Linked DNA regions of Homo sapiens: region 1 is linked to region 2. The links are contacts of gene promoters, found by promoter capture Hi-C in blood cells and fetal thymus (Javierre and others, 2016). All regions are on one chromosome and are shown on one strand. Each heading gives the region's core, a stretch centred on a gene start or on the middle of the fragment in contact. The rest is flanking DNA. Distances are from core to core; before and after follow the strand shown.

What was found. The method cuts DNA at HindIII sites, captures the fragments that hold promoters and counts their contacts. A CHiCAGO score of 5 or more calls a contact.
Region 1: a contact is called between a fragment that was not itself captured here and the fragment with the promoter of CAMK2N2 in region 2, in 1 of 17 cell types (M1 macrophages). The highest score is 5.3, in M1 macrophages.

Annotation. Positions count from the first base shown.
Region 1 is chr3:184,108,154-184,112,960 of GRCh38, reverse strand. No RefSeq gene overlaps it. Among named protein-coding and RNA genes, the nearest start is that of HTR3E-AS1, 5.4 kb to the right of the region's middle. The HindIII fragment of the contact is 3,629 bases long and covers 1-3,579 here.
Region 2 is chr3:184,260,121-184,264,900 of GRCh38, reverse strand. It overlaps CAMK2N2 (calcium/calmodulin dependent protein kinase II inhibitor 2), which reads left to right and starts at 3,348. Exons shown (of 2, transcript NM_033259.3): 1 at 3,348-3,784; 2 at 4,674-4,780. The coding sequence starts at 3,616. The coding sequence ends at 4,744. The region is part of intron 2 of EEF1AKMT4-ECE2 (EEF1AKMT4-ECE2 readthrough); the gene reads right to left. RefSeq lists enhancers at 1,494-2,256, 4,142-4,693, 4,694-4,780. The HindIII fragment of the contact is 12,942 bases long and covers 1-4,780 here.

The sequences.
Region 1 (4,807 bases), core at 516-3,015, 150 kb after region 2:
GGAGTCCAGCAGATAGACTTCAAATAGAAACCTGTGAACTTGGGGAAGAGCTGCCTCTAACTGTTTGCTGCTGTGGTCATTGGACAGCCTGACTGGTTCATGTTGGAAGGCAGGGGAAATTGAATGAATACGTTCAATTATTTCCATTCTCTGCACATGGGAGAGGATTGCTACTTGTTCCTGGATTGACCTGGGAATTGAGGCATGCCCTCCATGTGCTTCAGCAGAATGACAGTGTTTCATCACTGGTTCATATAAGCAGCCTGGCCCAGGCCGCCACAGTTAAGTTGGTTTGCTCTTCTTCGAAAGAACCTTACAGTGTGACCTATACAGGTACTGAGAGGACACAAAATTACGAGCAGGCAACGAAAACAACGGGGCCAGGCGCAGTGGCTCACACCTGTAATCCCAGCATTTTGGGATCCCGAGGCGGGTGGATCACTGGAGGCTAAAGTTCGAGACCAGCCTGGCCAACATGGTGAATCCCCGTCTCTACTAAAAAAATGCAAAATTAGCCAGGTGTGGTGGCACATGCCTGTAATCCCAGCTACTTGGGAGGCTGAGGCACGAGAATCGCTCGAACCCAGGAGGCGGAGGTTGCAGTGAACTGAGATCGCACCACTGCACTCCAGCCTGGGCAACAGATACTCTGTCTCAAAAGGAAAAAAAAAAAAAGCCTACTGATTGTCAATCACATATACAAAATACCTTCACAGCAACATCTAAACCAGTGTTTGACCAGACGACTGGGCGCCACAGTCTAGCCAAATTGACATTTAAAATTAACCATGTCAGGCCGGGCACAGTAGCTCACACCTGTAATCCCAGCACTTAGGGAGGTTGAGATGGGCGGATCACCTGAGAGGTCAAGAGTTCGAGACCAGCCTGGCTAACATGGTGAAACCCCTTCTCTACTAAAAATACAAAAATTAGCCAAGCACGTTGGCAGGCGCCTGTAATCCCAGCTACTTGGTTGGCTGAGGCAGGAGAATCTTTTGAACCTGGGAGAATCTTTGGAATTTTTTGAACCTCACTGGGTTGCAGTGAGCCGAGATCATGCCACTACACTCCAGCCTGAGAGACAGAGCAAGACTGCATCTCAATAAATAAAATAAAATAAAATAAAATAAAATAAAATAAAATAAATAAACCATGTCAATGACCAATATGAATATTGAGGACAAGGGCTCCTTCTGAAGTAGGATTAAGAAAGGAGAGAAGATAATTTCTAGGACATGTGATTAGAACACTTAAAAGACTTCATGAGGCTGGGCATGGTGGCTCATGCCTGTAATCCCAGCACTTTGGGAAACCGAGGTGGGTGGATCACCTGAGGTCAGCAGTTCAAGACCAGCTTGGCCAACATGGTGAAACCCCATCTCTACTAAAAATACAAAATTAGCCGGGTACGGTGGCATGCACCTGTAATCCCAGCTACTTGGGAGGCTGAGGCAGGAGAATCATTTGAACCCGGGAGGTGGAGGTTGCAGTGAGCCAAGATCGTGCCACTGCACTCCAGCCTGGGCAACAGAACAAGATTCCGTCTCAAAAAAATAAAAAAAGACTTTATGAAATTAAAAATTATTTTTAATTAAAACATTCAGTAGATGAGCTGAGAATAGAAATGGTCACTCCTGAAAACTGAATTGTTGTCTGAAAGATTGGTCACAACACAAAGCCAAGCCACAAAAAATGGAAGCTGGAAGAGAAAAAGACAGTTTAGAAAACAGATCCATAGGACCTAACTTGTGAATAGCACAAATGCCTGAACAGCGCTGGGTACGGTGGCTCATGTCTGTAATCCCAGCACTTTGGGAGGCCGAGGCGGGTAGATCACGAGGTCAAGAGATCAAGACCATCCTGGCCAACATGGTGAAACCCCATCTCTACTAAAAATACAAAAATTAGACGGGCATGGTGGCGTGCGCCTGTAGTCCCAGCTACTTGGGAGGCTGAGGCAGGAGAATCGCTTGAACCGAGGAGGTGGAGGTTGCAGTGAGCTGAGATCACGCCATTGTACTCCAGCCTGGTGACAGAGCGAGACTCCATCTCAAAAAAAAAAAAAAAAGAAAAAAAAAAAGAAATGCCTGAACAGAAAAAGAACAGATGGAAGAGAGTAAGTAGAGTGTTACTTATATCCTAGAAAAAATTCCCCAAACAGAAGAAAGATTTAAATATTCACATTGAAAAAGGTCACTGAGACACAGAAAGGATTAGTGAAAACACACATTTGACATAACCTAGTGAAATTCAAGCGTCTGTAATCGCCAATGGGGTCACCTTGCCTGCTGCCTAGACAGAGCCAACTCATCAAGACAGGGAAATTGCAATAGAGGAAGAGTAATTCATGCAGAGCCTGCTGTGCGGGACACTGGAATTTTATCAGCCTCCCTGAGCATTCGGGGATCAGAGTTTTTAAGGACAACTTGGTGGGTTGGGGGAAGCCAGTGAGCCAGGAGTGCCGATTGGTCAGATCAGAGATGAAATCATGTGAAGTTGAAGCTGTCCTCTTGTGCTGAGTCAGTTCCTGGGTCGGGGCCACAAGATCAGATGAGTCAGTTTATCGATCTTGGTGGCCAGCTGATTCATTAAGTGCAGGGTCTGCAAAATACCTTAAGCACTGATCTTAGGAGCAGTTTAGGGAGGGTCAGAATTTTGTAGCCTCCACCTGCATGACTCCTAAACCATAATTTCTAATCTTGTGGCTAGTTCGTTAGTCCTATAAAGGCAGTCTAGTCCCCAGGCAAGAAGGAGGTTTGTTTTGGGAAAGGGCTGTTATCGTTTTTATTTTATTTTATTTTATTTTATTTATTTTTTAATTTTAATTTTTTTAAAATTTTTGTTTATTTATTTATTTTTGAGACGGAGTCTCCCTCTATTGCCCAGGCTGGAGTGCAGTGGCACAATCTTGGCTCACTGCAACCTCTGCCTCCTGGGTTCAAGTGATTCTCCTGCCTCAGCCTCCCAAGTAGCTGGGACCACAGGTATGTGCCACCATGCCCCGCTAGCTTTTGTATTTTTAGTACAGATGGAGTTTCACCATATTGGCCAGGCTGGTCTATTATTTTTATTTTTATACAGGCATGAAACGCTGTGCCCAGACCATACTGTACCTTTTGATATTTGTACCTTGTATGTATATTACTCTTCCAAAAATGAATCAAGAATTAATGAAAGAGATGTGCGAAAATATACTAGGCAAAAGCAAGATTTGCAACACTATCCTACAAATGGAAATCATGTTCAAAACACATTGAACAGAACAAATAGTGACAATATATGAGGATAAAATCAGGCACAATTCAAGAAGATATAATAACCATACATTTTTATGCATCAAATCACATAGCTGTCAAGCATATAAAAGGAAAACTACAAGTACCCAGAGAACATGGATAAAATACTTTTGAACTTTAACAGACCACACAGACAAAAATAAGCTATGATATAGAGGATTTGAATAATGTAATAAATAAGCTCTATTTAGTAGATGCATATAGAGAGAATATATACTTTTTTTAAAAAAAAGAACACCTAAGAACACAAATATATACTTTTTAAATGTCCTGAAACAAAGCTTGTTACAGAACCAATCATGCATTCAGCCAGAGAAAAAGCTTTTTTTTTTTTTTTTTTGGGACAGAGTCTCCCTCTGTCTTCCAGGCTGGAGTACAGTGGTGTGATCTTGGCTGACTGCAACCTCCACCTCCTGGGTTCAAGTGATTCTTCTGCCTCAGCCTCCTGAGTAGCTGGGACTACAGGCATGCGCCACCACGCCCAGCTAATTTTTGTATTTTTAGTAGAGACGGGGTTTCACCGTATTGGCCTGGCTGATCTCGAACTCCTGATCTCGTGATCCACCCGCCTTGGCCTCCCAAAGTGCTGGGATTACAGGCATGAGCCACTGCGCCTGGCCAAGAAAGCTTTATAAATCCAAAAAGGTTTAAATTTATACACCATGCTCTCTGATCATAAACCAAGAAACTAGAAATTAACAATGAAAGGATAACAATAACAAAAATCCCTTATCCATAGATATGAAGACACATTCTCCCAAATAGCCTTTATTTCTATTTTTATTTTTTTTGAGACAGGGCCTTGCTTTGTCGCTTAGGCTGGAGTGCAGTGCAACAATCAGAACTCACTGTAGCCTTGATCTCCTGGACTCAAGCAATCCTCCCACTGCAGCCTCCTGCACAGTGGGACTGCAGATGTGTGCCATACATGCCTGGCTAATTTTTTTTTTTTCGTAGAGATGGGGTCTCGCTATGTTGCCCAGGCTGGTCTTGAACTCCTGAGCTCACACAATCCTCCCACCTCAGCCTCCCAAGCTATTGGGATTATAGGCATAAGCCATTGCATCTGGCCCCAAATAGCCTTTATATCAGAGAGAATTAAAACAAATTATGAATTGTCTACAAAGTAATGAAGAGGAGATCACCTTATTCTAAAACCTATGGGATACAGCTTAAGCTGTTCAGAGTAAAATCAATAGAAAGACTGAGAACACTTTAATGGAGAATTCAACTTGGAAAACCAGAAAAAGAATAACATGAAACATAATAAATTAGGAGAGTGCTAAAATGAGATCAGTACAAGATAATGGAAAAGATAAAAGAATCTACTAGTAAGAAAATATTTCTGAAAACACCTAAGAGAATTAAAACTTCTCAAACCCAACAGTTGTCACTTCAGTCTTGGGAGAGAGGATCGTTCCTGATGACATGGAAGCTTTATCACAATCAAAGAGTCAAAGAAATGTACAGGTTATGTTTTAAAACTATCAGTTCTGGTTAGTTTTCTTTCT
Region 2 (4,780 bases), core at 2,099-4,598:
TTGGCAAGAACCCTCATGCCTCTTCTTTGGCATTTTAGGTGAGGGGCAGCTCACTACCTCCCGAGACAACCCACTTTACCCCAGGACAGTTTCATCTACAAAACTGTCCTTTTCTTTCTTTTTTGAGTCAGGGTCTTGCTCTGTCACCCAGGCCAGAGTGCAGTGGCACCATTATGGCTCACTGCAGCCTCAAACTCCTGTGCCCAGGTGATCCTTCTACCACAGCCTTGCAAGTAGCTGGGACCACAGGTGTGTACCACCATACCCGGCTTGCTTATTTATTTACTTATTTATTTAGAGATGGGGCCTAGTTATGTTGTCCAGCCTGGTCTCCAACTCCTGGCTTCAAGCGATCCTTCTGCTTCAGCCTTCTGAGTGGCGGAATTCATAGGTGTGAGCCATGAATGTTGCCCAGCAAAACGTTCCTTAATAAGTAGGTTTTATCATCCCCATGCTTCAGACTAGAACATGGGGCTTACAGAGGTATCATATCATGCAGACACATGGTGAAAAGACTAGAAGGATATATATATATATATATAGTTATAAGGCCGGGTGTGGTAGCTCATGCCTATAATCCCAGCACTTTGGGAGGCCAAGGCGGGCGGATCGCGAGGTCAGGAGTTCAAGACCAGCCTGGCCAACATAGTGAAACCTCATCTCTACAAAAAATACAAAGACTGGCAGGGCGCAGTGGCTCACACCTGTAATCTCAATACTTTGGGAGGCCGAGTGGGCGGATCACGAGGTCAAGAGATTGAGACCATCCTGGCCAACATGGTGAAACCCTGTCTCTACTAAAAATACAAAAATTAGCTGGGAGTGGTGGCACACACTTGTAGTCCCAGCTACCCAGGAGGCTGAGGCATGAGAATCACTTGAACACAGGAGGGGGAGGTTGCAGTGAGCTGAGATGGCGCCATTGCACTCCAGCCTGGCGACAGAGTGAGACTCCATCTCAAAAAAAAAAAAAAAAAAAAAAAAAAAAAAAAGCTGGGCATGGTGGCGTGTGCCTGTAGTCCCAGCTACTCGGGAGGCTGAGGCAGGAGAATCGCTTGAACCTGGGAGGTAGAGGTTATGGTGAGCCAAGATCGCGCCATTGCACTCCAGCCTGGGCAACGGAGCAAGACTCCGTGTCAAAAAAAAAAAAAAAAAAAAAGATGTTATGTGATTTTCTTAATTTTCCTAAAATTTTTTTCCTTCCTTCCTTCCTTTCTCTCTCTCTCTCTCTCTCTCTCTCTCTCTCTCTCTCTCTCTCTCTCTTTCTTTTATTGAGACGGAGTCTCGCCTCGCTTTGTCACCCAGGCTGGAGTGCAATGGCCCAATGTCCGCCAACTGCCACCTTTGCCACCCTAGGTCAAGCGGTTCTTGTGCCTCAGCCTCCCAAGTAGCTGGGACTGCAGGTGTGTGCCACACCTGGCTAATTTTTTTTGTATTTTTAGTAGAGACAGGGTTTTGCCATGTTGATCAGGCTGGTCTCAAACTCCTGACCTCAGGTGATCCACCCACCTCGGCCTCCCAAAGTGCTGGTATTGCAGGCGTGAGCCACTGAGCCCGGCCTCCTAAAATGTTTTAAGTACAAACGAATTAATTTTTTAAAACCATGATTATGGGTCCTTCAGTTCAAGGTCACTGAGAAAGTGGGAGTCAGGATTGGAACCCATTACTGGACAACTTCCAGTGTATGTGGAATTTTCTGGACTCTCTTCCAGTGACCCCAGTCTTCCGCCTTTATTGTCCTTCCAGTTTCAGGGCTCCTCTCACTCCAGGCTGGGCCTCCACCTCCAGCTGTGGCCCTCATCCCGGAGACTAGGACAGAGCAGAGGAGGGCTTCATAGTGATGGGCCCCCAGGCCTGGGCCCTTGAGTGAGGCTGGCATCAAGGTATCCTGTGGCATACCGCCCCCCCCATCCAGTTCCCTGGGCAGCCACCATTGCGTTTGTCCCTGTGTCTCCGGTATTAACACCTGGCGAGAAAGTGTTGGAAGGAGACCCACTACAAGGCAGCCTCACCAGCTGTGTGATTTGGTAATTTGGCCAGATTAAGGAAGGAAAGCGCGTTCGCCTGGAGTGTGGAATGAACGTACAGGGTGATCATTACCGTTTTCAGCGCTGCCGTCACTGTCGCCGCATGTGAGACACCCCCTCCTCCCCAAGGCCAGTGATTGCGCCAGAGCTCCTGCGCGCTGGCAAGCAGGTGACGCCGCGGGTGACGGCCAGCCAGGGCGGGGGTTGTGGGGGCGGGAGGCAAGGGGAGAAGAGGGCATGTTCCCATCGGTGAGGCGAGAACTCACCCGTGGTCCAAAGCAACGAGGGCGGGGGGCACCCTCCATCTCTACCGCACTCCCTCGGGGCACACACTGGCGCGCTCCGCGTCCTCAGGTGCTCCGAGCTTCCCCGCGTCACCCGCAGCCCAGGGCGCCCCCCGCGACGCCGCCATTCATTCCTCCTACACTGCGAGCGCACCACTCCAGAGCCGCGGGGGGCTACAGCCACCGGACTAGGGCTGGGGGTGTCTGCCCTGGTGCGCGCGCGTCGGCCCAGTTTCTATAGACCCCTCCTAGGAGAGACTGAAATACCCAGATTCAGGAGACGGAGACACTGGCACAGAGATACAGGAGTCAAGAATGGAGATAGATAGAGAAAGGCAGACACTTAAGGGACAGGCATAGACAAAGGCCATAACACAGCGAAAGAGATACGGGGCACAGAGACAGAGAGATACAGACACTTAGAGATGGACTGACACACACAAAGGCGGAGACAGAGACACAGACCGGCACTCAGAGGCGCACGGACCCTGACGATCTACTTAAGACCAGCAGAGCAACTAGTACAAGAGCGCGTCAGCGGCAAGGGCACCATCCCACTGGCCCGAGCTCTTCCCGCGCTGTGGGTTCGTGCCTTCCCCAGTCACCCTGTACCCGAGTCTCCTCCCCGCGCATTTCCCGCTCCCCGCTTTCCATTGCCAGCCCTGCGGCCGCCTTCCCGCCCCAACGCGCCCGGCCAGCTTTTGCCCTCCTGCTCCCAGTCCCCCTTGCACGCCTCTCCCAGCCTAGGGGTCAGACCCTCCTCCAAGCTCCTCCAGTACCAGGCTCGATCCCACCCCCCTTCGGTCCCGCCCCTCCCCGCGAGGTCCCGGCCGGGTTGGCTGGTACTATTCCCCAAGACCCACGTGCTGGCCATTCCCCGCCACAGTGCGGGAACCTCCCACTCCAGCTGCCTCTGTTCCCGGGGTAGCTGGGCGCGCTCCTGCCCCCGGCCCCGCCTCTTTCCCCTGGCCAGTGCCCGCCCCGCCTCCACCGCGCCCCGCCCGCCGTGCTCTGCCGCAGTCGGGCGCTCATCGTCATTCCGCTCTTGCCGCCGCCGCCGCCACCCCCGCCCCCCGCCCCCGCCCCCGCCCGGTCCCCGCCACCGCCGCCGCCGCCGCCTGCCCAGCGGCCCGGGAGGCGGAGGCGCGGGGGAGGAGGCCCCGCTTGGCTCCTCAGCCCCGGATGCTGCATGACTTCATCCTTCCGCCGGCTCCCCTGCTGAGGTAGGGCCGGTCCGGCAGCAAGCCCGCCGCCCGCGCCCCGCCGCAGTCCCGCTCCCGCCCCGCGCCCACCCCGCGCCCGCCATGTCCGAGATCCTGCCCTACAGCGAAGACAAGATGGGCCGCTTCGGCGCAGACCCCGAGGGCTCCGACCTCTCCTTCAGCTGCCGCCTGCAGGACACCAACTCCTTCTTCGCGGGCAACCAGGCCAAGCGACCCCCCAAGCTGGGCCAGATCGGCCGAGCCAAGCGAGGTACGCGGCCCGGGCCCGGAGTCGCCGCCTGACCCAGAAACCCTCCGCCGGGCGCCCCCCGGCTGCCGTTCCCCGCCGAGTGCCCGCAGCTCTTGCCGCAGACCAGCGCACCAGCCGCTCTCCAGCCCGGGCTGGAGGGGGGGGTCCCCGCTGCAGTGTGTGTCCCCCTCTTCCCTTCTCCCGGGAACACGGTGCCCCGGATTCGATGCTCGCCACCTCTGGAAGCAGAGCCCTGGCACCCGGGCGAGGGGGAGGGGCCGGTCGGGGCATTTGGGGCTGCACGGAAGTGGGAGCACGGGGTAACGGGCTGATTCTTTGGGATCAAATACTGAGTCGGTGGACAATACGAAGAACCTTCGGGTCGAGAGGGACGTCTAACAAGAGAGGGCAGGAGGCCGGGGGTCCGCTTGTCTTGGTTGTTTGCATGGGGAGGGGAGCTCTGTTGGTGCCAGGATCGGAAGAGGGGTTCCAGCGGCGAGAGGGCTCAGGTTGAGGAGAGGGCTGGACCAGCTGGATACTCGGTTTGAGCCCCATTTGAGCAGGGGGATCTGTTGAAGTGCGGGTTGAAGAGGGGGATTCCGTGAGCAAGAGGTTTCTGATCAACTCAGAGGGAGGAAGGCTCAGGTGGCAGGAGGGCTCGCACTGGGAGGGAGAATAGCTGGAGCCTTTGGAAGAGGGGCGTTCCGCCATCGGGAGGGGAGGGGGTCTAGGCTTGGCGGCGGGTTGGGTCTCCAGAAGAGTTCGGACGGGGAGGACACCGCGGCACAGGGTTCCGAGGGGCGTCGCTGGGCCACGGGCAGTAGCTGCGCGGGAAGCTAGGACGCGGGGCTCATTCTCATCGCCGCCGCCCCCCGAGGCCGCGCGGCTGACGCGCTTTCTCCCTGCGCAGTGGTGATCGAGGATGACCGGATAGACGACGTGCTGAAGGGGATGGGGGAGAAGCCGCCGTCCGGAGTGTAGACGCGCCGGCTCGGGCGGCGGGCTCCGGGCCCAGCC